Regions from separate parts of the Homo sapiens genome. Here region 1 is linked to region 2. The links are contacts of gene promoters, found by promoter capture Hi-C in blood cells and fetal thymus (Javierre and others, 2016). All regions are on one chromosome and are shown on one strand. Each heading gives the region's core, a stretch centred on a gene start or on the middle of the fragment in contact. The rest is flanking DNA. Distances are from core to core; before and after follow the strand shown.

Region 1 (3,059 bases), core at 57-2,556, 54 kb before region 2:
ATCTGTAGACCTTGCCTGGAATTTTTTTCAATAGCAGACTCCAGTTTGGGAATTGATCCTCTTCGGAGACCTGGACTTCACATAAACCAACTTCCCATCTCCCCAGTGCCATGAGCAAACTCTGTTTTCTCTTTGTCCATGGTTGTGTGATGGGTGCTTATTAGATGTTTAAGGGTTATGGGCTTTATTCCGTAGGTTCTAATCTGTTCTCCCTCCTCCTCAACGTAAGTACACAGTGGATACCCTCTCTATGATCTTCATTCTCTGGCCATGGTGCTACAGTGTTCTCATTCCTCAGAGCAGCCAGGATGTGTTATTTCAGGAGTTTGTGACATTCGAGGATGTGGCTGTGCACCTTACTCGAGAGGAATGGGGATACCTGGACCCTGTTCAGAGGGACCTCTACAGAGAAGTGATGTTAGAGAATTATGGGAACGTGGTCTCACTGGGTAAGGACTTCCTTATTATTCGGTTTATCTATTTGAATTTCTTTACTTTCTTGTTTCTTCCTAAGTATAAGGTCTCTGAGAAGGTCTGTAGAGTGTGGCTTAGATTCCAGGACTTAGAACCTCTGAATCCTTATCTTTCACATCGTCTTCTCCGGGAGGGGTAATTAACGTTTGTTTGGGGGTGCCAAGAAGAGACATTCTCCTCCTTATCCCCAGTTCATGTTTATGGCCATTGTGGGGCATCTTTTCCCTTTTAGCAAAGGGAAACTTTCTTGTGCTTTGCTTGATTTCTCACCGTTCTTTTCTTTTCCATTTTTGTAGGAGAGACCCCAGGGTGGCCTCCCAACCTCCAACCAGACACTTTCCTCTTTGTTATCTCAGTGTCCCTGTATTAGAGAATTGAAGAATTTCCCATTTTTCTAGGAAAAAGAAATGCCGTTTATTTAAAAAGACAGGCTAAATTCCTTCTTGTTGAGTAGTCCCTCACCCCTTAAGATCCCCAGATGTATCTCCAAGCAGGCAGAACTTGAGATGTCATTTGAAGGCATGACTCACTGTGAGTACATTTCAGTGAGTCACCCAGAATGGTAATCCCACGTAACCACACCCAGGGCAGCAGAAATCTCAGATGTTTACCCCATGCTGAGGTGGGGTCAATGCTTAACTCATGTCTCTCCCTTGTCATTTTGAAAGGTACAGTGGGAAGCTGGGATTAGCCAAGCTGTAGTGCTGCTGGGAAGCATCAGTGGGGTTTGTCGGCAGCTCCCTTGGTGTGAGCATTGTTCCTTTTTCTTTAGTTTATTTTTTATATTATATTATATTTTTTATTTTATTTTATTTTTAGATGGAGTTTCACTCTTGTTGCCCAGGCTGGAGTGCAGTGGTGCAATCTCAACTCACTACAACCTCTGCCTTCCAGGTTCAAGCGATTCTCCTGCCTCAGCCTCCCAAGTAGCTGGGATTACAGGCATGGGCCACCACGCCCGCCTAATTTTGTATTTTTAGTAGAGACGGGGTTTCACCATGCTGGTCAGGCTGATCTCGAACTCTTGACCTCAAGTGATCCACCTTCCTTGGCCTCCCAAAGTGCTGGAATTACAGGCATGAGCCACCGCACCCAGCCTCCTTTTTCTTTAGTTTCTTGCTTGCTTCTGCACTCTTCTTTTTGTGTGTGTAAATACTGAATCATGCATTTTCTTTTCTTTTTTTTTTTTCCGTTGGCTTTGTCTATGCTGGTGGCATCCAGGGCATTGCTTTGTCTCCCTGATTATGCTCAGGATTCAAGGTCTTCTTATTTGTGGGGAGGCAGGCTGCCCACTGGGACGGTTTTTAGTGTGTTTTCCATTCCTGGCTCTTTAATCTTTGTAGGCATACTTCTCCGCCTTCCCACCACCCGGATTCATAGTGTGAATTCCTGCCCGGCCCTGAGTCATACCCAGGCAAGTGCTTTCTCTGGAGAAACACTTGCCGTCCTTACAGCAGGAATCTCCAAGAGATGGCCCAAGTATCGGCTTCCCATCGATATTGCTCGTCCCTGCTCGGAAACTCCTTTTCCACGATTGTGAGATATTAAAATTGACTGATGGAATAGAAGCTCCCCAGGATGCCACCACTGTGTAAAATCGCAGCTCCTCAAATTACCTCTGTTTAATTTCAAATGTTAGGGTCCAAGGAAGCCCTCTGTTGCAACCAGATATGTTTTGAACCCAGTTCATTCAGAAACCATGGTTGGTGGTCATCATCTACTTGTATTGTGAAAAACCAGAAATTCCAAATTCAGCTCTTCAGTTATGGTCTTTTCATATTATTTTAGAATGTGAAACTTATGCTGTGTGCCCCTCCTTTTATGTGGCGAACACAACCTGCCCCGTATGGTGCCTAACTCTCCTGTGAACCCTGGGCTTCCCTCATGTTTAACATTCTGGTTTCCTCCTTCCTTGAAGTCCCTGTGGCCCTCTTCAAGGTCCTACCTTCCTACCCTTTATTCTTTGTGGTTCTGTACAGATTGATGCAATTATATTGCCTTTCCTGATTAAGTGTTCCTTACTCTGTCCTTGATGGAGGGGAGAAGGGAGGGCAAAGAAGTTAAATTTATTTCAGGGCATCAAATTGAATATCTACTTAATAACTTTGTAAACTGTAAAGTGACATACATATAATTGTAAAGTACTGTTAATTTTATCTAATAATTACAGAGTTTCCAACAGTTAACCTGTCTACTTTTTGGAGTAAAGAAACTTTGTAGCAGTTTAATGCAGTCTAATAGCATAGTATGCTATAGACTGAACTTTATCCCATTTCCTCTCTTATCTCTGCACTGCACACTCGACATGCAGTCGACATGCATACACACTTTTACACATACAAGAGACACGCACAGTGCAAGAAAGCCTTCTACTCATCTTGCTTTTGTGATCAAGTTAGCAGCATCTCCTTAGCAGTTATTTTTACAATCCTTGGGAAATCATTTTCATATTTTTGGGTTCAGCAGACTTCATCTGAAAATTAACCCATTTATGCCTAGTGTTCCATTATTGGAACACTAAGCTTGCGGGAATTATTTATGTCCCGCTGCTCAAGGTCATCGCCAAGGTCTGATTTTTAACAAAA
Region 2 (3,048 bases), core at 390-2,889:
GATGAGATATGGGAAATGGATGCTGTTAGGTACTGCTGGTGGAAGTGGCACCATCAAAAACAGTGGAAATAGCAGATCACAGAAAGATATCTGAGGGGACTTCAGATCTCAGAATTATCAGGCTCAACTATATTTACTATGTACAAAGAAAAGCTTAAACATATCGGTAAATTCTTTTAAAAGATCGATCTAGAATATTTGGAAAAAATCAAATAGAAATTCTAGAAATGGAAAAAATATATTAATTAAAACAAAAATATGGGTGGCCAAGTGGGGAGGATTGCTCGAGCCCAGGAGTTTAAGACTAGCCTGGGCAACATAGTGAGACCCTGTCCTTACAAAACATTTTTTAAAGATTAGCTGGGTGTGGTGGCTCATGCCTGTAGTCCCAGCTATTTGGGAAGCTGAGGTGGATTGCTTGAACCCAGGAGTTGGAAGCTGTAGTGAGCTATGATAGCACCGCTGTACTCCAGCCTAGGTGACACAGCAAGACCTCGTCTCTTAAAAAACAAAACAAAACAAAACAAAAAAACAACAACTGTGGATTTTGTAGCACATTAGAAACAGCTGAAAAGTGGATTATTAATAAAAAGGTGAAGACATAAACCCAAGTCAAATATGGGCAGACAAGAAAAATATGAAAGTGGGACAGAGACATGGAGGATAAAGTGAGATGGTCTAACACCTATGTTATATTCTAGGAGTTCATTTACTCTATAAGTGTATATTTTTAGCAAATATTGTACCAGACACTTTGCAAAGTGCTGGAGAAGAGTAAGACAAGAGGGTTTCCTGTTTCCTGAGTGGATTCTGGAGTAACACTGGGCCACCCAGTTGAGACAGACTGCCTTCAGGCTGGACGCGGTGGCTTGCGCCTGCAGTCCTAGCACTTTGGGAGGCCAAGGGGGGAAGATCGCTTGAGTCCAGAAGTTGGAGACCAGATTGGGCAACATAGAGAGATCCCCCTCTCTGCAAAAAATTGAAAAAAAGTCCCAGCTACCCAGGAGACTGAGGTGGGAGGATTGCTTGAACTCAGGGCTTCGAGGTTGCAGTGAGCTATGATCTCACCACTGCACTCCATCCTGGGAGACAGAACAAGACTTCTCTCTCTCTTTCTCAAAAAACACAAACAAACAAACAAACAAAAACCCCCCACAAAAAACAGCTCCGATGCTGGCTCCTCCAGGAAGCCTTCCCTGACTACACATACACACACGCACGCACACTACCCGGGGTCAGGAGCCTCTTAAGTGAGCCGGTTAGATCCAGTGCGCCCCCTATCTCCTCTGCCCCTACGCCTCGCGCAAGGCCCTCGCAGCCGGAATAGTCGCGCATTGACCGACTGGACTCTAAAGCCCCTTGGGGCAGGTGCTGTGTCCAGTAGTGTATCTGGCGATGCACCGAGTCCTTTCCACGGAGGGCAAGCAGGTGAAATGGCACGGAAGTGGAAGGGGCCTAGCCACAGAGCGCCTCGAGCTGGGCAGTCAATCCTGGGGAAGCCCTGGTGGTCTTCGCCTCGCCGGGTTCGGAACAGCAGGCTGGGATCAGCAACCATCGAGACGCATCCGCCGAGACCTCCGAGCATCCTAGAGAGGACACGGAAGCGAGTCTTTCCTTACGCACCTGTCTAACAGCGTCCGCAGCTCACTTCCGGACCGCGGATAGCACTGGCGACCCTAGCGGGTGAGAGGCCCTTCAGGGCCGCGGCGGGTGAGAGCCTCTTCAGGGCCGCAGCGGGTGGCGGGCGAAGTGGTAAACGGGCGCGGGGACGGGTTTTGGTGCCGCTACGGGGCTCGGCGGCAGCGGGGTTGCAGTAGAGCCCGTCTCCCTCCGCTCAGCCCCGGCTGAGGGCGGCAAGTCTCTCAGGAGCTGCCTTCAGCGGCCCCGAGGCCCTGCGGGTCTGGACGCTGAGGGGCCGCCGCGCTGTAGGCTCAGGTAGGAGCGAGGCTGATCCCGCTCTGCCAGGCTTGGCTTAGTGCAGGGCTGGCCACGAACCCGAAGAGATCTTGAACCAAAGCAGAACTCTGTGCAAAGTGAAAGTAATCACATAGGACACTTATTTAAAGAATAGTGATGAGCCAGCCTGGTCAACATAGCGAGACCCTGTCTCTACAAAAATTGAAAAGTAGCCGGGCGTGGTGGCACGCGCCTGAGGTCCCAGCTACTCGGGAGGCTGAGGCAGGAGGATCGCCTGAGCCCAGGAGTTCAAGGTTGCACTGACTTACATTCATGCCGCTGCACTCCAGCCTGGGCAACATGGGGAGACCCTGTCTCTACAAAAATAAATAATTAGCTGGTCATGGTGGCACTCGCCAGTAGTCCCAGCTACTCGGGAGGCTGAGGTGGGAGGATCGCTTGATCCTAGGAGGCAAAGGCTGCAGTGATCGCACCACTGGTCTCCAGCTGGGGTGATAAAACCCTGAGATCCTGTCTCAGAAACAAAACAAAAGAGTCACAATGGGTGGGGGGAGATAAAGAATAGCAATGGGGCAATTTCTATTTGTCAAATGGCAGAGATAAAAGATGAATGAGGATCTTTCTTGCCTCCAGGGAATCTGTTAGAGGGAGACACATGGGTAAACATTTGCACTGTAGTGCATTAAATGCACTAGTGGAGTGAACCAATGCAATAGCTAGAAAGGAATGAAAGAGAAATCTCAATGTTGCAGAGTCAATGAATAGACTGAAAATATAAACTTGGTTTAAGTGGGGGTAGATAAATACACAAACTCACAATAGAATATTTAGCAGAAGCTTTGGGGTGTGCCTCCTGCCAGCTGCCCATTCTCTGCTCCAGTCAGGTGATCTTTCCGTTTTCTGACAAGCAGGATCTCCTTCCCCTGGTGCTTTGGACTTCCAAGTCTGTCTTCCCAGTCTAGGTCTTCCGCATAATCCACTTGGAGGTAAATAGGACTCATTCTCCAGTCTACTTCAAGCCTCTTCTTTTCCTTGAGTACTTGGACTTAGATTAGTTTTCTCTCTTTTTGACTTCACATTTTTTTTTCAATCTGTACCATGTATTTTGGGAGGCAGTTATCATCTAGTCTC

What was found. Contacts are between HindIII fragments. The CHiCAGO score rates a contact against its expected background, and 5 or more counts as called.
Region 1: a contact is called between a fragment that was not itself captured here and the fragment with the promoter of ZSCAN25 in region 2, in 1 of 17 cell types (naive CD4 T cells). The highest score is 5.0, in naive CD4 T cells.

What each region holds. Positions count from the first base shown.
Region 1 is chr7:99,562,046-99,565,104 of GRCh38, forward strand. All of the region lies in intron 2 of ZNF655 (zinc finger protein 655), which reads left to right. Among named protein-coding and RNA genes, the nearest start is that of ZNF655, 4.9 kb to the left of the region's middle. The HindIII fragment of the contact is 3,376 bases long and covers 1-2,994 here.
Region 2 is chr7:99,615,307-99,618,354 of GRCh38, forward strand. ZSCAN25 (zinc finger and SCAN domain containing 25) reads left to right here and starts at 1,640. Exons shown (of 8, transcript NM_145115.3): 1 at 1,640-1,710. RefSeq lists enhancers at 786-1,765, 1,356-1,675. The HindIII fragment of the contact is 2,601 bases long and covers 152-2,752 here.